Linked DNA regions of Homo sapiens: regions 1, 2, 3, 4, 5 and 6 are each linked to region 7. Evidence: promoter capture Hi-C in human tissues and cell types (Jung and others, 2019). All regions are on one chromosome and are shown on one strand. The core of a region is centred on a gene start or on the middle of the fragment in contact, and the rest is flanking DNA. Distances in the headings are between cores, read along the strand shown.

What was found. The method cuts DNA at HindIII sites, captures the fragments that hold promoters and counts their contacts. A contact is called where the count stands out against the background at its distance.
Region 1: a contact is called between a fragment that was not itself captured here and the fragment with the promoter of PRICKLE1 in region 7, in 1 of the 25 tissues and cell types used here (H1 embryonic stem cells).
Region 2: a fragment that was not itself captured here is called in contact with the fragment with the promoter of PRICKLE1 in region 7 in 1 of the 25 tissues and cell types used here (mesendoderm cells).
Region 3: a contact is called between a fragment that was not itself captured here and the fragment with the promoter of PRICKLE1 in region 7, in 2 of the 25 tissues and cell types used here (mesenchymal stem cells and thymus).
Region 4: a contact is called between a fragment that was not itself captured here and the fragment with the promoter of PRICKLE1 in region 7, in 2 of the 25 tissues and cell types used here (H1 embryonic stem cells and mesenchymal stem cells).
Region 5: a fragment that was not itself captured here is called in contact with the fragment with the promoter of PRICKLE1 in region 7 in 1 of the 25 tissues and cell types used here (bladder).
Region 6: a contact is called between a fragment that was not itself captured here and the fragment with the promoter of PRICKLE1 in region 7, in 2 of the 25 tissues and cell types used here (heart left ventricle and stomach).

What each region holds. Positions count from the first base shown.
Region 1 is chr12:42,153,460-42,156,334 of GRCh38, forward strand. No RefSeq gene overlaps it. Among named protein-coding and RNA genes, the nearest start is that of GXYLT1, 10 kb to the left of the region's middle. The HindIII fragment of the contact is 3,053 bases long and covers 1-2,875 here.
Region 2 is chr12:42,988,162-42,991,150 of GRCh38, forward strand. No RefSeq gene overlaps it. Among named protein-coding and RNA genes, the nearest start is that of LINC02461, 170 kb to the right of the region's middle. The HindIII fragment of the contact is 3,885 bases long and covers 1-2,989 here.
Region 3 is chr12:43,046,469-43,049,320 of GRCh38, forward strand. No RefSeq gene overlaps it. Among named protein-coding and RNA genes, the nearest start is that of LINC02461, 110 kb to the right of the region's middle. The HindIII fragment of the contact is 4,998 bases long and covers 1-2,852 here.
Region 4 is chr12:43,081,334-43,084,323 of GRCh38, forward strand. No RefSeq gene overlaps it. Among named protein-coding and RNA genes, the nearest start is that of LINC02461, 72 kb to the right of the region's middle. The HindIII fragment of the contact is 4,842 bases long and covers 1-2,990 here.
Region 5 is chr12:42,132,614-42,135,608 of GRCh38, forward strand. The region is part of intron 1 of GXYLT1 (glucoside xylosyltransferase 1); the gene reads right to left. Among named protein-coding and RNA genes, the nearest start is that of GXYLT1, 11 kb to the right of the region's middle. The HindIII fragment of the contact is 5,711 bases long and covers 1-2,995 here.
Region 6 is chr12:43,005,233-43,008,090 of GRCh38, forward strand. No RefSeq gene overlaps it. Among named protein-coding and RNA genes, the nearest start is that of LINC02461, 150 kb to the right of the region's middle. The HindIII fragment of the contact is 5,264 bases long and covers 1-2,858 here.
Region 7 is chr12:42,587,871-42,591,095 of GRCh38, forward strand. PRICKLE1 (prickle planar cell polarity protein 1) reads right to left here and starts at 1,876. Exons shown (of 8, transcript NM_153026.3): 1 at 1,595-1,876. RefSeq lists a silencer at 1,880-2,129 and an enhancer at 2,599-3,156. The HindIII fragment of the contact is 9,160 bases long and covers 1-3,225 here.

The DNA.
Region 1 (2,875 bases), core at 208-2,707, 430 kb before region 7:
CTCCAATCTCCATGATGTGATTATTATGCATTACATGTCTGTATCAAAACATCTCATGTACCCTGTAAATATATACACCTATGTACCCACAGAAATTAAAAATTAAAAAACAAAATGTGTTCACCGTCATTTTCTTTGTCCTTTAGAAGTCTTCTCCCAAACTAGTTTTATAACCTTCCAACTCTTCCCATTCTTGCTGACTCCAAAAGTAAACACAGGACCATTTTATTGTTGGATTATGAATTAAAAGAGGATAATGAAAATAATATCCATTTAGTTTCTGAATTTTCTTGCTAAAAGATTTATTAGAAAAATGATGATGAGGTGGTAGCTTTCATCCAAACTCCCTTCTTCCAGGTAGGTCAGCCGATTTAAATCTAGATGTAATCTAAAGACCTACTAAAACTGTATGTATTATTTCCACTCCTCAGGAATTCCAGATGGGGAGGTATGTATCTCACTGGATCCTTGCCCCAAATAGTTCCCCTAGGAGTTTATTCTTACAACTTGAAATAAGGAAGATTTTTTTTTTAAATACTATTTGGCCTGATTTACACTAGATATTTGTGGCCATTTATAAAAACAAAAGAAAAACAAGTAGATAAAAATCAAACTCTGGAAAAATACAAAAAAGATCAAGAATAAGAAATTAGATTAAAATAGAAAAAGAGCCACCACCAGCCTCCATGGCTCACACCTATAATCCCAATACTTTAGGAGGCCAACTCGAGAGGATGGCTTGAGCCCAGGAGTTCAAGACCAGCCTGGGCAATGTTGTGAAACCCAATATTTATAAAAAATACGAAAAGAAGAAGAAAAAATTATATTTCACAATTTATTATTTGTCATGATGTGAAGCTTGAATCTTTATATTAAATCTTTTCCTCTGATTAAAAAAAAGACTAAAAAGTTAGAATGCAGATAAGCAGACAACCAAGGCTACATAATTATTAAAACTGAACTCAATTTTTTTTTTTTTTTTTTTTTGAGATGGAGTCTCGCTCTGTCACCCAGGCTGGAGTGCAGGGGTGGGATCTCTGCTCACTGCCACCTCCATCTCCTGGTTTCAAGCAATTCTCCTGCCTCAGTCTCCCAAGTAGCTGGGATTACAGGTGCCTGCCACTATGACCAGCTAATTTTTTGTATTTTTAGTAGAGACGGGGTTTCACCGTATTGGCCAGGCTGGTCTCGAACGCCCGACCTCAGGTGATCTGCCCACCTCGGCCTCCCAAAGTGCTGGGATTACAGGTGTGAGCCACCGCACCCAGCCTGAACCCAATTTTAATAGGAGATTTCTCACAACTACAGCAAAAATATCGGGCAACCAATTAATAATCTGCTTTGTCCATAAGGAAAAGGCAATTTCTCAGGTGAAGTAAAGCTCTTTCTGAAATAAATCTGAATAAAATTTCTTTTGGACAGAGTGATGTAATACGCTTCTTCATCTACAAAAAGGACATAGCAGACCTCATTCAGCTGTTGTATGATTTTTTAAAAATTAGTGCAGGAAAATGATAAATTGTCTCACTTTACATGGCTTAAAGTCTTAAACTTTCAAAAATTCAAGCTGGAGTAAATAAAAGTGGAGTTGGGCTAAAACTACTGGTGACACCCAAAATTATCAGCTTCAAACATCAAGATGAGGCCCTAACATTTTCAATGTGGACTTGCAGTAGATGCTTTAGCCTAGGTGAATTTTCTAGAAACAAATGGGTGGCAAGCACTCTCTCTTGTCTGCATCTCATACATGTTTTTATTATTGTAGTTATGGCACTGTAATTATTTACAGTCTCTAAGATGGCCATTCCACATCTTATTGAGTATGTATATTCATACATACTCAGTAAGTGTTCACTGAATTAAATAATACTCAATAAGTGTTCACTGAATTAAATAATACTGATGTAAATAAAACCAAAGTCAACAAAATACTTACTGTATTACAACAGTGAAATAGCTATTACAGTCCATAACTCCCAGCAACAGGGGAGACTAAGAATGTGAAACATGTCCCAGAGCACCGAAGCCTTCCAGGTAGCTACTTGATTTTTTCCATTGAAGTATTTAGTCTTATGGCATTTCATATGCTCCAGAATTAGACTATTCCATAAAGACAGGAATATCTGCACTGGCTAAGCACAAAGCCTAATTCAGTTGACCCTTAAACAATGTGGCGGTTAGACACACCAACCCTCAAGCAGTCAAAAACTCGCATACAACTTTTGACTCCCCGCAAACGTAACTACTAATAGCCTACTGCTGACCAAAAGCCTTACTGATAACATAAAGTTAATTAACACATATTTTGTATATGTATTATATACTGTATTCTTCAACAAAGTAAGCTAGAGAAATTGTTAAATCATTAGGAAGGAAAAATATATTTACTATTCATTAAGTGGAAGTTGATCATCATAAAGGTCTTCATCCTCATAGTCTTCATGTTGAGTAGGCTGAGGAAAAAGAGGAATGGTTGATTTTGCTGTCTTCGACGTGGCAGAGTTGGAAGAAAATCCATGTGTAAGTGCACCCACGCAGTTAAAACCCATGTTGTTCAAGGGTCAACTCCACATTACATACTTAAAATTTAAATTATCTGGGCTGGTAGGAAAATGCATTCAGGAAAGTAGTTAATAATTTTCTTTTGTTCTTACAAATGGCCACATATATCTAGTGTAAATCACGCCAAATAATATTTTAAAAAAACCTTCATTTCAAGTTGTAAGAATAAACCCCTGGGGGAACTTTTTGGGGCAAGGACCCAGTGAAATAGATACCTCCCCAACTGGAATTCCTGAGGAGTGGAAATAACACACACAGGTTTAGTGGGTCTTGAATTACCTTGTAATTCAAGGTAAAACTTCTCTGTGACAGC
Region 2 (2,989 bases), core at 317-2,816, 400 kb after region 7:
CTGATGTCCTTTACCTTCTTTGATATAGACAGATTTAGGAGTTGTCAAAAATTCAATATCTGATTTGCTATAAAAAGAACAAAATCTTGTAAATGAAAATAAATACTATGGACATTTTGTATCTATTTACAGTTTTTCTCCCCACAGTATCTCTAGAATCCATGGAGAGAGAGGGAATTTTTTTTTTTAAATTGGAAGTAAATAATAAGATTTGATTAAAATATGGCATACAAGATAAATATGTACAATAACTCCTCTAACTTATTTTAACTTCAGATAGTAGTTGACTGAAAACATCCTCGAAAGAAACATATATAAAAGAAACATATATATATCTATACATATATTCAGATTGTAGTTGATAAAAGTAGATATTACCTTTAGATAGTAGTTGACTGAAAACATCCTCAAAAGAAACATGTATAAAAGAAACATATATATATACATATATTTATATGATATTATTTTATACTTTGACAAAAGCATTTTTATACTTTTTAAATTCTGACAAAAAAGTCATCAAACAATAGAAATAATTTTATGTTTATTAAATTGTTTATTACTCTATTATTTTAAACAAATTGATCCTTGGTCTTCAGAAAAATTATTTCATACTATACACTGGTTGGCATGTACAAGATGAAGGTTCTGCCCTTGGGGCACAGGAAGACAATTATGTTTTAGAGCACTGCAGTTTGGACCATCAATCATTCATTTTTTCACAAGTATTTGGGTCCTTTTTCTCTTTTTGACCTTATTTCATATATTTGCAATTCAGAAATGTGCTCAAAGTTTGGCTTTTATATGTAAAAATTTAAATATATTTTTACTCACATGGCTCAAACAAATTTTACACTAAAAATGAATTGTGTTGGAATATAGAGCTAATTCCCAAGGAGGCACTGAAGCATCACTATTGACCTGGGTGAGGCCCAGATGTGTCTGTACACCAACAGGGGTATACGGCGTAAAGCAAGATGGTTATTAAAAAATGTAATAGCATGAGAATTCCAATGCATTTTAATAAACTCATCTTTCTACAGTTTAAGTTAATTTCTTCTACAAGAATACATGTATATGTATAAAATGGTCCTCCTTCTTATTAAAAAGATAATAATAACCTTTCACTGTGAAAGTGTGCCAAGCAAGAGGCTTTTATTTTTTTACAAAGCAATTTAAATGGGGACCCAGAGTAGACCATTTCACATGATATTTACAACTTCACCAATTTTAATAATTTATCTACATTTATTTTACATTCTCCATGACTGAATGGTGAGTCTAGAATATGGCATGAATTTTGCCCCCATTTACTAGGCCATTCTTGCTGGGAAGGTCTCTTTTACTCTGTAGCCATTTAAAGGTTTCATTCTGTTTCTCTTGAACCTACCCTTTCTTAACCATCTCTTCCTGTTTCTCTTAGTGATAGAAAAAAAAAAAATAAATCATCCCGGTAATAACCTCCAGTTCCTTCCCATGAGGGTTCTGCAACCTCCCTGAAAATAGAGCCAACACCCCTGGGCCCCTTGACGTGCTTGAATTTGTAGTGTGAACCCAGCATAGGGCCTTTCTCTGAGAACCTTACCTGAAAAAGTGTAGTGAAACGTTCAGAAGGAGCAGTCAGTGGCTCTAGTGGGAAATGGCCCAGGACAAAAAGTCTCCTCTTCATCTAGGGACCTGGAAAGGCTTTCAGCAAAGAAAAAATATTATAGGATTATTATTTTTCTCTCAAAGGTGTCAAACATTCTAGAAGAAGACCACCAGAAAACAGGTGAGAAAAGCAAAAGCTTTATTGCTCATAGTAGGAAGGTCAGTAGGAGAGCAAGACTGACCCTACCTTCTGGTTGTTAGCAGAGGTTTGAGATGTGACACAGGCATTTAGGTCTCGAGAAAAGGGCACAAGACACAGCGATATAAGAAGGGGTGGATGCAGGGATAACTGAATAGTTCTGCTTTCAGAAACACGTTCCTAAGCCTGAGCCAGTCAGGGAAAAGAGCATTCTGTGATCATTGGCTCATCAATAATATGACTAGGCCGGGCACGGTGGCTTATGCCTGTAATCCCAGTACTTTGGGAGCCCGAGGCCAATGGATCACTTGAGGTCAGGAGTTCGAAACCAGCCTGGCCGACATGGTGAAACCCCGTCTCTACTAAAAATACAAAAAAATTGCCAGGCATGCTGGTGGGCACCTGTAATCCCAGCTACTGGGGAGGCTGAGGCAGGAGAATCACTTGAACCTGGGAGGTGAAGTTTGCAGTGAACTGAGATTGCACCACTGCACTCCAGCCTGGGTGACAAAGTGAGACTCCATCTCCAAAGAAAAAGGCAATTTGGGCTTGAGTCTTACAGTTCTTTTTACCTATAGGTTGTGAGAAGATCTGAAGCTGTTACCATGACACTGAGTCTTGTCATGCCAACAGGATGAGTACTGTCCCTCAGGCAGTGCTCTGTCCTGCTGTTTCCTACCTCTGAGACTTGAATCTTGCATCTTCTCTGTTTCTAAAGTCCTCCCTCAACTTCACCTACCCAGACCTTAACCATTCTATGTGGCTTAGCTCAGATGTTATTTCCTGAAGTTTTCTCTGATTATGGCAAGGACTGCTATCTCCTTTTGAAGTCTATATGGTTTGACTGTAATGCTATTATTGCATTTCCCTCCTATTGCCTTCTACTGAGGTTATTTGTGTATTTATCCAAATCCTTTATTGGATTTATAATCACTTAGCAGAGAGAAAATTCACATGTGCCAGGCAGTGGGTTACATACTATCTGTGCCTAATCTCCTTTAATCCTGGTGAAATCTTTCTAATCTACGCATTATTGCCTTCATTTTTAAAGTGAAGAAACTGAGGCTCAGAGAGTTTGAGGGACTTGCCCAGGTCCCATGTTGGTAAGGGGTGGAATGGGGATTTGCACTTAGGTGTGTATGACCACAAAACCTAGGCTCTTTCCCACCTCCTTATGCTGATACTCTTAGGGCAGGGATT
Region 3 (2,852 bases), core at 127-2,626, 460 kb after region 7:
AGAAAATATAGAGTACAAATTTCTCCCTTTTTGGAATTATTTTTTGATTGCTCAAAATATAAGCTTGATTGTAAATGTTAAAGCAATACTGAGGAAGATAGTATACTTTCTTTTTTCAATTTATAATGTTTGATACATATTTTATATTAATGTTGGAGTACATAAGTTTTAAAGATTTTCTGTATCTTTATTAAGTCATTTATGTCACCTCTTGTTCTATCATAAGCTGACTGAGATTGAGTCAAATGTTAAGCAATTCCATTTCATTAATTTTGTATTGCCTTTGAAACTCTTTTTTGTGCATTTTGCCACTATAAAATGATCTTATTTATTCCATTTAATATTTTCCCCTGTAAATTCTATCTTGCCCAGTATTTCTCTAGCCATTCTTGCTTTTTTATATTAATATATAGTTTATACATCTTCTTATATTTATTTGCTAATCCTTTAACTTTTTATCTTTCAATTTTTATGTTTCTTCAATTTTTTATTTAGCCTTTAATATATGGAATTTGTTTTATTGAATTTTACCTTTGATAATTTGCAAAGCAGACATTAGTTTTAAACGATTTCAGTATATTTTTGATTCTTAAAACTATGGCAATTGAATTTTGAGAATAAAAAAACTTTAGAATTCAATTCAGATAAAGTTTAAGGTTAAACTTCATCATTATCATCATTCTCATCATTCTCAAATTCCAGAGCATCAGTCCCTTCTGAGGCTCCTCCTATCCCTCTGCCCATTACATTTTAGTTTCCTTTGTCAGTTCCTTTCTCTCTATAGAACCTTGAAGGGGTGTAGCTCCTAAGGGCATGGTCCTGGGCCCTTTCTCTGTAGGAAGTGACATATGAACTGAAACTGGAAGGGTAGGCAAGAGTCAGTCTAATAAAATGTTTGGCAATAATTTCATCCACTCCTGTGACATCAAATACCATCCATAGATGGTCATTTCTAAATTATCTCAAGAAGTCCAAGAGGATTTCCATACATCTCCTTTCCCCTTGCTCTACAAACACAGTTCATTGACAAACTCTATAGAGTCTTCTGCCATAATATAGCAGAATCACTTTTGGCCCTCTGTATGCACGGATTGATTCTTCTGGAACATTCTGTCACTCACCTCTTGCCAGGCTGACGTCTACAGTTGTATCGTCGTCAGCGTGAGCATCACTTCCTCCAGGCACGCTCTGCTCTAGCACTCTATACTTCGTTCCATTACCAAATCAAATGAACTGGTTTTCTTATGTTCCTTCCTGGGTTAGAATGCAAGCTTCTAGAAAAGAGGAACGATGTCCTATTTATCTTTACAAGTTCGGTGCCCAGCACACCAGTCACCCAGCTGGTACTCTATGAAAATAACTTGTTGAATGATTGAATAAATGGATACAAGTAATTGAACAACTAAGATAATGCAAAGAGTAAAGCATTTCCCAGACATAAAGAATAAAGCAGTATGATGTATTTAGTGAACTCCAAATGGTTAAAAATTGCTAAAACGTGGAGTGTGCTGCTGTGTTAGGATGGGGAGAACAGTGGGAAATGAAGCTGGTGAGGTGAGGATGAAGTGGATGGGCTGTACTCCATGCTAAAGTGTGTCGTAAATGTGTTCACTTACTAATAGATTTTGAACAGAATGCTGCTTCTGTCTTAGATGGGGTGTCCTCTTATTTTTCAGTGAGAAATAGAACAGGCAATCTACTTTCAGTTTCTTTATTCCTATGTAAATCTATTTGCTCCCCTGAATTTGTGCTGCAGAATTTATTCATCTGTGTCATGTCAACGATTTTCTCTTTCTTTGTCACTAAGTAATTGGAAGGGTTAGGCTGTGCAGATGTCTCATGTTCTCTTACTGTCCATGAGATCACTGGAGAGATTGAAAAGCTTGTGACATATTTATCAGCCATTTTAAATTTTTTGTGTTGCTTTTTCTAAATCTGTTCAGTTTTTTAATCTCTATGCTTATTATTCATTATTGCTTATCCAGAGCTCTTTATATATTAAGAGGGAAAAATTAACTTTTCAAAATATTGTCATTAAATGTGATTAAATTATTTCTACTGTTTAGAATCCCTGCTCAATTTGCAATTTTGCATGTAAATGTCTACTATCACCAAGAAAACTGTTCTAGGAACAGACAGCTTATTTGGGACAATGGCATTACATTTTGTTCTGGTAATACCAGGACTGTATTTTTCTTTTACGTTTTTTCTAAAAATGCCTGGGTATATGCAAATGTAATCAGAAGGGCTGAATACTAAAACCATCAGCATAGTTCTCTTATTACTTGATTCTGCACACCATTATACTTTTTTTAAAGAAAAATATTGAGCTCTAAAATCAAATTTTAAGCTGTGGAATTCTTCCCAATAGCTTTGTTATTTAGAATAGCAATGCTTAGAAAATAACATGCAATGAATAATCATAAAAATTGTATTCTAGTTTTTATACTGTTTCTACTTTTCTTTTAAAATTGTCCCTTGCTGATGGCATACATCACTTATTAGAATGATAACCAAGAAAATAATCCTGTAAAATGAACTAGCGAAATCAAGATAATGTAGATTACAACAGCATTCTCTCTCATTCTTTTTTTAGGAATGTGTAATGAGCAGAAATAATGTGGACTGTGACTTGGGCTCCTTTTATCTTTACATTTTTTTCAAAGAGGCAATCTTACCAACTGATTTACAGAACTCATTTTTCCCAAAGTGTTTAATTTTTTTGTACAGCTATTAAATGTATGCCTATAAATTAAATATTTAAATAATGGTAGTAGTAAAAAAAGTGCTGGGATTACAGGCCTAAGCCACTGCACCTAGCCAAGGAACATTTGATTTTTAAATGGCTATAC
Region 4 (2,990 bases), core at 19-2,518, 490 kb after region 7:
TTGGTAGGCTTAAAAATCATCACCCATCTTTTCAAGAAACAATATTCACTTGAGCAAATACACAATCTTGACAGTGAAAGATTTCTTACATTTATACAAAAAACATTTTTGGTTACTATTCTATATACAGAAGGTAAACACGTCAATGTTCCTAAGATGCTCTGCAGATGCAACTATAAATTAGACCTAGATTCTGCCTCAGTGATCTTATGTCTAGTAGTGGAAACCTGTCAAGAATATGGGTATTTACGACGCACTAATGGTTCAGTTAAACACTATAGGAGTTCTGAGGAGGAAAGTTATCTTCCTCGTAGTTTTATATTGGCAGGAAATATGTGCCCTTTTCAGTGTATCCACATGGTTAAGTCTCTTCAAATTCCAAAACAAAATGATATTTTGCAACAAAAACTTAGTCTTCTTTTTTTTAAAAAAATTTGTTTTTGCAACAAAAGCAATAGTAAATCCCTTACATTAAATCTGTGTCTCCTTCTAGGTATTTCTTTATATCGTTTCTCCTCTGCTGATGCAAAGTTCTTACGAGAAAGTGTCTTAGTCTACTTTGTGCTACTATAAGAGGATACCACAGGCTGGGTAATTTATAAGGAATAGAGATTTATTTCTTACAGTCCTAGAGGCTGGGAAGTCCAAGAAGGGGCTGGCATGTGGTCAGGGTCTTCTTGCTGCATCATCCCTCGTGGAAGGCAGAAAGGTCTTGAGAGCATGACAAAGTATTGCGGGCAAACTCAATTTTATAGCAAATCTACTCCCATGATAATGACATTAATTCATTCACGAGGGCAGAACCCTCATGACCTAATTACCTCCTAAAAGTCCCACCTCTCAACACATTGGGAATTAAGTTCCCAATACATGAACTTTGGGGAATACATTTAAACTATGGCAGAAAGAGTCTTTAGTTCCTTTTTCCACATCCGTATTTAAATCCTGTCCACTCTACTACCCTCTGCAAACTGGCTATCACATCCCTCATTTCACTTTATATGTTATCAATTCCAAATACAATAAAGTATTTTGAACCCCTTTATTAACATACATATCTGCATTTAGCTCTCGGTTTTTTTTTTTTTTTTTCTTAATTGAAACTGTTTCTTCCCCTGGCATCCTAGATTTTGCCCTCTGGCTGATCAATTCCTTCTAAGTCTTCTTCCCATGGTTCTCATTCTCAGCCAGTCCCTTAAATGTTGGTATGATCTAGGGATTCTTCTTTGGCCCTTTCAATTCTTTCTCTCATCACATTACTCCTGGCTGAAATCCTCCATTCTTATGTTTTTTTCTACAAATAATGTATGTTTCCTACAAAATATTCATATTCTGTCTGTCATAATGTAGAAAGACTTCCCAACCAAGGACTGTATTTCCAAGACAAAGCTCTCTTGGATCCAGAAGAGAAAACAAGAATAATTTATAACAATGTAATATAATGAGAAATGACCAGTCACTTCTGGGCCAAGGGACTTTTAAACAAACTCTTATGACTTTCCCCATCTGTTTGAGAAAGTGGAACCACACAATGAAAGTAGACTGGGATCTATAATTCTCATGTGACTAAACACCAACCAGGAATCCTCATAATTGACTAGTATGTGAATCAAAAATAAATTTCCATTAAGCCACTGAGATTTGAGGATTTATTTATAACAGTGCCTACTATTCTAAAATAGAAATTGGTGACTTAAGTGGTATGGTGTAATTTTAAAAAACTTGAAATAGGATTAGTAGTATTATCTGTTCATTGTTACTGAGTTTAATATGACATGAGAAGAATGAAATGAAGGCAGACTACAGAGAACCATTTCTTAAGCAATGAATGACGAGAGAGAGAGAGAGCAAGAGAGAGAGAGAAAGATAATGCTAGCTCTGAAATATGGAGCCTTTCAAGGTAAGAAAACTTTACTACTTCTAGAACCAAATCAATAAAAAAAAGACCTAAAAAGGCTTTGAGAATATATAATACAAAGGCACAACCCATGAAAGAAATAATTGATATGCTGGACTTCAAAATAAAACAGTTGAGTTTTTGGAAACCACTGTTAAGAGAATGAGAAAACAACTACAGACTTAGAAAATATTTGCAAAAGACCGATACAAAAAAGGACTTTTATCCCAAATATAAAAGGAACACTTAAAACCCAACACTATGTAAATAAATAACCTGATTTAAAAATGGGCAAAAGAACAGGCACCTCACCAAAGAAAATACATAGATGGCAAATAAGCATATGAAAAGATGCTCAACATCATACATTATTAAGGAACTGCAAATTAAATCAATGAGACACCTCTAGACACCTATCAGAATGAAGAAAACCCAAAATACTGACAACATCAAATGCTGGCAAGGATGTGAAACAATAAGAACTCTTATTCACTGCTGGCAGGAATGAAAAATAGCACAGAAACTTTGGAAGACAATTTGACACTTTCTTATTAAACTAAACACACCATACAATTCAGCAATCATGCTCCTTGAAATGAGTTGAAAACTTATGCCCACAAAAACATGTACACACAGATGTTAGCACAGCTTTATTCATAATTGCCAAAACTGGGAAGCAATCAGGATGTCTGTTCTTCACTAGGTGAGTGGATAAATAAACTGTGATGCATTGAGACAATGGAATATTATTCACCACTGAAAATAAATGCTATCAAGTCATGAAAACACATGGAGGCTAAAAAGCACATTAGTCAATGAAAGACATCAATCTAGAAGGCTACTGATATGGTTTGGCTGTGTCCCCACGCAAATCTCATCTTGAATTGAAGTTCCCATAATTCTCACATGTTGTGGGAGGGACCTGTTGGGAGGTAATTGAATCATGGGGACAGGTTTTTCCCATGCTGTTCTTGTGATAGTGAATGAGTCTCACAAGATCTGATGGTTTTATAAAGGGCGGTTCCCTTGCACACGTTGTCTTTCCTGCTGCCGTGTAAGATGTGACTTTGCTCCTCCTTCACCTTCCACCATG
Region 5 (2,995 bases), core at 140-2,639, 460 kb before region 7:
GTTGCTGAAACTACTTGATCTTCGTTAGTCTCAAGAAAACGCCCACGTGAGCTAGAGAGCACACCTCAAACTCCCTGTTCTCAGGAAATATCCACCAGGGAGCTTCTAACTCAAAAGACCCTCTTGCAGTATTACAATTAAACTGTATTTGGGGGCAATGTTTTTGTTTTGTTTTTTTTTTTAAGTTGATGCAAGATGACGAAGCCACAGACATGAGAATTAAATTCAACAAGACCAACATATTGAACAACTCAGTAACGAGTTTAAATTTTGTGAAGCTTTGAGCCACACCAAGAGCCCTACACTTCTGCTAGTACCAAACTAGGTGCCAAGTATGGTGGATTAAGGATGATCACACATCTGACACTTCTATTAATAAGTAGGATCTGCTGCACGCAGTGGTTCATGCCTCTAATCCCAGCACTTTGGGAGGCCAAGGTAGGCGGATCACTTGAGGTCAGGAGTTTGAGAATGGCCTGGCCAACATGGTGAAGCCCCATCTCTAATAAAAAAAATCAGTCAGGTGTGGTGGCGGTTGCCTGTAATCCCAGCTACTCAGGAGGCTGAGGCAGGAGAATCGCTTGAACCCAGGAGGCGGAGGTTTCAGTGAGCCAAGATCATTCCATTGCACTCCAGCATGGGTGACAGAGAAAGACTCTGTCTCAAAAAACCAACCAACCAACCAACCAAGTAGGATCTAACTCCCCTTATCCAGAATCTAAGTGGGCTCTGTGATTGCTTTGACAAATAGAATACTGAATATAATACTGTACCAATGTCCAGGCCCTTCCCTTAAGAGCTCCACATCCTATTTCTTGGAACACTCTTTGAACCTGATCTTCACGTTGTAAGAAGCCCAAGGCACATGCAGAAGCCACTTGAGAGAATGCAGATCAACAGCCTCCACTGAGCTCCTAGTCAAAAGCCAGCATCAACTGCTAGCCATGTAAAAGAGCCACAATGCCACACCATTCTGATCTACCAACCTACTGGTTCCTCCCCAACTCACAGAAAACTAGCATCCGGTTCACAGTCCTCGTCTCAGTACCAAATCCTACTTTCCTCTAACCATTCATTTGGTAAATCAATAAATTTTCTACTGAATGACTACCTACACAGGCCAAACACTGGCAACACTATAGTGAGTAAAATGGACATGGATCATACTGTCTAGTGGGGAGTAACAGAATGTCATTTCAGATACTGCAAGGTGAGAGACCTAACCAACACCCAGGTTACACAATTCTTTAAATCCAGTAACTCTTACCTCCTTTTCCCTTCAGTGAAAAATGGCAAATGCTGGCCGGGCACAGTGGCTCACACCTGTAATCCCAGCACTTTAGGAGGCCGACGTGGGTGGATCGCTTGAGCCCAGGAGTTCAACACCAGCCTGGGCAACATGGCAAAACCCCATCTCTACAAAGAATAAAAAAAAAATTAGCCAGGCATGGTGGTGTGTGCCTGTAGTCCCAGTTACTCGGGAGGCTGAGTTAGGAGGATAGTTTGAGCCCAGGAGTTTGAGGCTACAGTGAATTGTGATCATGCCAATGCACACCAGGTCTGGGCAACAGAGTGAGACCCTCTCTGACAAAAGAAAAAAAAAGAGAGAGAGAAGAAAAAGTAAAAAAATGACAAATCCTGGACCCTGTCAGAAACTGCAATCCAATACCTCATCTCAGACTAGTCTCTGATCTAATAATTATGGTTCTTTTTTCTGAGACAGGGTCTTGCTCTGTCGCTCAGGGTGGAGTGCAGTGGTACAAACACAGCTCACTACAGCCTCAATCTCCTGGGCTCAAGCTATCGTCCTGCCTCAGTCCCCAAGTATCTAGGACTATAAGCATGTGCCACCAAGCCTAATTTTTAAAAAATTTTTTGTAGAGACAAAGTTTTGCTTTGTTGCCCAGGCTTATTATTTATATCCCATTACATGTGTGGAAATCACTCAGCCCTCCAATCACATGCTTCCTAAGTATAAGCTCCCTGCTTTACCCATTTCCCTCCCTACTCAGACTACATCATATGGTTCATCCATTCATGTTCCTATACCTGCAAACTTCCACCTTCTTCTTTCACCGTACCTTTTCAGCACAATCTTCAGTTGAAACTGAGCTGTTCATTCACATTCTCAGATGAATACTGAAGAACAGTTAATGACATGACTATGCTGATTAGTAGAAATATAAATTAATTGTCTTCCCCTTAGCTAGTCTCATACCTATTACCAACTCCATATGCTTCCCCTTGTTGCCCATCTTCTTCTCAGGAGTCCTTAAAGACCTTCTTGCATCAATTAGTCTTTCTTTCTCCTTAACTGGCAATCTCTATTTGTGTAGTAGACTGTATTACTGTTCAGTTATTCACTCCCCACATTTAACTGTAAAAGGATTATACAACCCTATTCATTACCATGGGCCTTGCCTGCCTGATAAGGGAGGCATATATCCCTGCATCATTTATTGACTTTGACCTTATTCAAGTGACTTGCTTTGGCCAAAATAATATAAAAAGACATGATACTGTGGCATCAAAGTAGAAGCTTCAAATGGGACTGTGTTGTTCAATCTGGCTTCTTGCTCATCCACTACCACAAGACCAGGCATATCCAATGTATGGATTGCTCCTTTAGCTTGGATCCCAGGATGAGAAGATATATCAAGCAAAGTCATAGCCATAGACATGTAATGTGTGCAAGAAATAAATGCTTGCTATTGTAAACTGTTTAGATGTATGGGGTTGTTACAAAGCAAAGCAGAATAATACAAGCATAATTCCCTTTTAAAGTGTGTAATTCAATGGTTTTTCGTATATTCAGAGTTGTGCAACCATGACTCACCAATTAAATTCCTCAGTATATACTCAAGAGAACTGAAAACATGTTCACAGAAAAACTGTCCATGAATGCTCAGAGCAGCATTATTCATAATAGCCAAAAAGTATGAAAGAACTCAAATGTCCACCAAATAATGAGCAAAATGTGGTATATCCATACAAT
Region 6 (2,858 bases), core at 337-2,836, 420 kb after region 7:
GGGTGGCCACCAGTTTTCCTAAAATTTCCCATTTCCAAAGCCAAGTCAAATAGGTTAGGACAGTGTATTTTCGCTTGGTTTGGACTAACCTGAGTCTTCCTATGAATTAACGTGCATTTCAGTGAGTGTTGGAAAGAGACATACTTTTAGTAGATTCTGGTTCTGTCGACTACGTTAATTCTTAGAATCCTATGTTAATTTCCATTTAATGTGAGCTTGTTGTTCATGGTTTTAGGGGGAAAAGTATCAAAAAGACTTAATTTGCAGTATTTTTAAAAACACATAATGTTCTGAAGCCTCACTGTAACTCATTTTAGGGTTCAAATCGCACAAGTACACAAATACAAAGTTTTCCAGTACTTTTTGTACCAAATGTACTTTGATGAAATTCAAGGCAGATCAATTACATAGTCACAAATTGAATTGTTATATCCACGAATGGAAGCTATGTTTACAACCATGCCACATACTAGTGAAAGCATGCAGGCAGTCAATAGTGACTACAGAATTTTTTCACAGCGGGGTTTGGGGTGGAAAACGAGTGTGTGGTGGAGGGAAATGGCATTTGTATGGCAAGCACATTTTTTATGTAGAATGTATGTTACAAATTAATTAAAGTAACAGCTTTCTACTTCCGGATGCTTTCCTTCACACCTTATTAACATAGAGAAATGTCAAGGGTCTATATTGGAAAATATTATTTCATTTTACTTGGGGTCATTGGGGGATTGATAGATAACATTTGTATGTGGTATTCAAGTTCCCTCCCCACATTCAAGCAACCCCTTAATGCCAAGGCTGGTAAAAGTTAAAGCAATTTAAGAAAACATGAGCCAAAAATAAAATGTTGACCATGTGAACTGGTTGGTTCACTTAGGTCTCTGATTTCCCATCCCCAGCTCTCATAGCCTGACAGATATCTAGGAGATGATGCCATTGTAGGCATAGCATAATTATGGAAAGAGGAAAAACATGTTAAGCTTTAGAAAGAGAAAAAATCATAAAGATGCATGTAGAAGACTATACTAGCAATGTGAATATAGAAATTCCTCCAGAAACTCAAGCAAGATTCTAAATGTAGTGACTGTTTTCTCCCACTCCCCAGTGCCACTGAACCTAGGGCTACAGTAGGTGTCTTTCTTGCTTTCATTACAACTTTAGCTCATTGTTTCTACTTCTTGCCTACAACTCCCAGACTTGCTACTTATATCTTCAGACTATACCACTCTCATCTCCTCCATGTTGACCACATAGCCTTGGCCACTTTCTCTCATTACTTAACATTTTTAGCTTTTGTTTACTGGCTCTCCATTCAAACTTCAGGGGCATTTCAATATCCACATAGATGATCTTTCTGATATGCTGCCCTTAATTTCCTCTCTTGTAATTTTTTTCTTCTCCACCCCACGTTAGTCATCAACTCCTATTGTCATACATACAATAAGCCTTTATATTACCAATAACGGTATCCCCAGTGGTGATAAACATAATTGATCCTACTACCATCTCATTGTTTTTCATCCCCTTGTCATCCTTATTTCTCTCTTCACTCAACATAGATTCCAAGGTCTTTCATCATCATTACCATTATCATCACAATCATTATCTCCACTGCCTTATTATATCTTCATTGCATGCACCTAGAAAATCCTAACTGCATGAATTAAAACCTGCATCCACACAGTTAAATGTGGCTGGAGGAAATAAAACTAAAACACAACCCATCACAAAGCCTGGTCTCACTTTAAATTAATGACTGCCATCCTCAACTGGATTGTCAAAGTTGCCAAGCAATCCCACCCCAAATCCCTAGTCAATTCACTCCATTGTTCTTCTAGATAATTATTTTATTCCTTCTCCCTTTCCTTAAAACTTGAAAACCCCCTCCCTCATCTTCACTCTCAGGTGATAACCTTGCTTCCTATGTCACTGAAAATTGTGTCATATATTCCCATCACCACATCTACCAGACCCACTAGCAACTGTATCCACAGGCTTTAGTGTTCACCTACTACTGTGGAAGAATTGTCCGTGCTTGTATCTGCTTAATCCTCTGATTGAGATTTAGATGGCTTCTTTCCTTTTCTCAAGGTTACCACTTCAGCAAATTTTTCCTTTCTTTTCCTGGAATCTATATATTTTCCTCTCTATGGGAAGAAAATTCCATAAATATATAAACATACCATAATGTCCCCAGCTAAAGCAATACAAAACACTTTCTTGGGCCTGGCGCGGTGGCTCATGCCTGTAATTCCAGCACTTTGGGAGACCAAGGCAGGCGGATCACCTGAGGTCAGGAGTTCAAGACCAGCCTGGCCAACATGGTGAAACCCTGTCTCTACTAAAAATAGAAAAATTAGCCAGGCGTGGTGGCACGTGCCTGTAGTCCAAGATAGGAAGCTGGGGTGGGAGAATCGCTTGAACCCAGAAGGCGGAGGTTGCAGTGAGCCGAGATTGCGCCACTGCACTCCAGCCTGGGTGACAATGAGACTGCATCTCAAAACAAAAAACATAAACAACAACAACAATACCTTCTTGAATCTGCTTTCTCCTCCATATACTGCTTTATCTTTTTTCTTTACTGAAAAAATTCCTTCAAAGAGATTAACATTAAAGTTTACTAGTTTTCCTACTGAATATGTGTTAGTGGCTAAGGAATCCTAACCAAATTACAAGTTGAAGAAAACATGCACCAGCATGAAGAGGAAAAGGCAGGAGAAGAAGCAGGTATTTCTGAGTCTTAGCCAGTCAGACTTGATCAAAGTTGCTGTCCCTCTCATCTCTCTCTCTCCATACATCATAACCACTAATATTCTTATCCACGAAGATCAAGCTTAAAAGGAACTAAAAACCTAGAA
Region 7 (3,225 bases), core at 626-3,125:
ATTAAAGCAGAATCTTTGGATTAAGTTGATGCTCAATTCAAAATGTATCTATCTTGCTGTCATGGGATTTTTTTTTGTTTTTTTTTTCCTTTCTAGAGTCTGAAAACAGACATAATGTTGGGGACGGTCAAACAAGGCTGCCGGCTCCCAAGGGGCTAGAGTCCACTCCTGATAATAGAAGGCGGCTGAACACTGACACTTCACTGAGGATAATGGAGACAGCAAAGGCTTAGTGGGAAAGGGCCAGTTGTCACCTAAGTGACAGGCAACAGCTGAGCTCACACATCTGGAGCCGGACTACGGCAAACATTAGCAACCCTCACCAGTCTACACCTTGGGCCTGTCTGAAAAGACAGATGGAAGTTCCCTCTACTCCTAAAGTACATTAAAAAATGTCTGATGGTGAACCACATCAATTATATAACATCAACTGCAGGCACAGCCTTCCAAAGTACTGATTAAGACGAGGCAGTAGACAACACTGTATGCATGAACAGATACAAGATACCATTTCAGTGATTTGTCATTCATAAAACTTATCCTAAAAGACACATATACATGCATCCATTTGATAGCACAAATGCATGTTAACTCTGCAGGAGAGGCAGATTTTTACATGTTTTTTTGGTTGTAGTTGTTGGTGCTTTTTTTTTTTCCTTTAGGCTGGTTCCCGTGGTGTGTTTGCCTTGTTCATGGTCTCAGTTCTGCCGCTGATACCCTTTTAAAAATCAGCAACCAAACGCGTTCGGCTTGTGATCCTGAACCCTCCTTAGGCAAGCTGGAACTAAGCGTGATGCAGCCGTCCTCCCTCTCTCCCAACCCCCAACCTCGTTCTTCAGCCTCCTGAAGACAATCTGTGAACAATTTTCCCAAAGTCCCAAGAATAACACAGCACTGCCAATAGTCACTGGCGATGCCGTTTGTTTTTCTTAGAGGGTAATGAAAATTTAACAGCTTTCTGCTGCATCCTGAGTCCCGCTCCTAATAACTATTAACATGCCTAGTTTCTTCAACTTTTTCTACCTCAAGAGAGGAAGACGCTCCCATTTTTTCCCTATATCTGTGCTACATTCAGCAAACACCATCGCGGGGCAGGGGGTTGGGGAGAGTGGTGGGAGTTGATTCGCCTCTGCCAAAAAGCCACCAGCCCCTTTCCCCAGCGCTAGAGGAGAGAATCGGTACCCTCCCTCCGGACGCCAGTAGGTGACAGGCGATCCTAAGCGGCGGGAACACGCCAACGCACCCTCGCCTCCCGGCGCCCCGCATCGCCTCGACCCTCGGGCTACAGAACCTGTTTCCACGCCGGAGAAAACCAAGGGAAGAGTTGGTTGTGATGCAGCAAACAGGAGCCATGCGGAGAGCCTCTGCGGAGCCCTGGCGATGCTGCAGCCAATATCTGCTTTCCCTGTCTACACAGCCCAACAAACCGATTATGACCTTCTCCCTGATCTTCTGCGACACCGACCCAGTCTGGGTGTCACAGACTCCGGCGGTGCCAGCGAAGGTGCCCGGCCCTACCCCTGCGGCGCTCGCCCCCCACCACCGCGCCGCAGCCCCCTCTGCGGAATCCGCCGGGATCCAGGCTGCCACTCACCTCGCGCGAGGGAGACGCAACTCGGCTGCACTGTCCTCGGCGCCGCTGCGGGGCTGCTGGGCTGCGGGGCTGCGGGGCTGAGGAGCTGCGGTCCGCGGCGTCAGGGGTGGGCGAGGGTGAGCAGCGCACGAACCATCCAGAGCCCAGAAAGTCTCCGTGCCGACCGCGGCGCGTCTCGGGGAAGTCAGCGCAGGCTGCGCGAGGCTGGCATGTTCCGGGCGCGCTGTCGGGCGGCGGCGGCCGCGGGAGACGGCGCTGGCAGCTGGGCTGCAGGCGGAGTGCGCTCGGGCTCCGGAGCCGCGCGCTGCGGCGCCGCCGCGCACCCCGCCCTCGGCCGCGGGGCCCGGCGCGAGCGAAAACGCGGAGCGCGGACGCCGCCGCGGGATCGAGGCCGCTGGGCGCGCGCCCACGCGTACCCCGGCTCGGCCCTGAAAGCGAGGTCGGGCCCGGCTCGGGCCGCGCCCGGGGGCAGGGCTGCGAGCAGGCCTGGGACCGGCTCCACGCGCAGCCAGTGGGGCAGAGCAGCAGGCGGATTATGCGCAGGGAGAAAAAAGTTCACCAACCGCGGTCCAGAGTCGCAAGTGCGGCTCGCTCGGAGCCTCTGCCCCGCCCCCGATTATAAGCCTTTTTTTTTTTTTTTTTTTAACCAACAATCCCGATGGACTGAAACACAGGAAGAGTGAAGGGACGGGGTGGGGGGTGGGGGAGAGACAAACCCAATTTCCTCTGATCAAACGATTTGGGTAGGGGTGCCTATTTGAGTTCCTTCTCCTTCGGGGGGTGTGTGAAGGGGGCAGTTAATTAAACACTTAGATTCCTTCCGGCGCGCCTTGCCGAGCTGGGGACCCGTTTGGACTCGATCCTGTCTCGTGTAATCCCACAGGCTGGTCTGAGTCTCTGCCCCGGAACCGGAGGAGTGATCTTTCAGAGCAAGAAGCCAAAGTTCAGCCTCTAGTCCGTTCCCTTCCCCGCCTCGACGGCCCTGGTCGTCTCCATGAAAACTCAGTGTGGGGGATCGTGCCCGCGAAAACCTCAGCCCACCGCAATGTCCAGAGCCTGACCCAAGTGAACGTGGCGCACTTAAAAGCGGGTTCAAAGCATTGATCCGAACACGGTGACAATTTTTCACTGGCCAAACTACTCTCCACATTTTCAGTCTGCTCAATTCCCAGAGCTGGGCTCTCAGGCGCACTCACCCACGTTGAACTGGGGCTCAGCCTGTTTGAAAGTTCTGCCCTGACATTTGTGTCACACTAAACCTTAGAACCCCCCACCCTCTCCAGTTCCGGATCGGTGGAGTCTCACCGTGTGGGTACTATTTCCCTGGACTGCAGAGGGCAGACACAGGCGGCAGCTGTTAACCCGAACTTGACAGGTGCCTCTGCAAAGCCAGGGCTTCCTTGACCTCTCCATCCTCTCCACAACGCTCTAGGATACTGTATCATCTTCCAGGAAGATGAGGATGTGTGTGGGGGGAGTGTGGAGGGAGGTGTTGACTGATGCAATTTTTATCCTTTTAAGAAAAATCAAAACTGCCAGTCTCAGAATTTCTCAGAACATCAAGTCTTTTCGATTTTCGTTGGGAATAAAGCAAAGGAATACTCAGCAAAAATGGAGCCGATGAAAAGAGA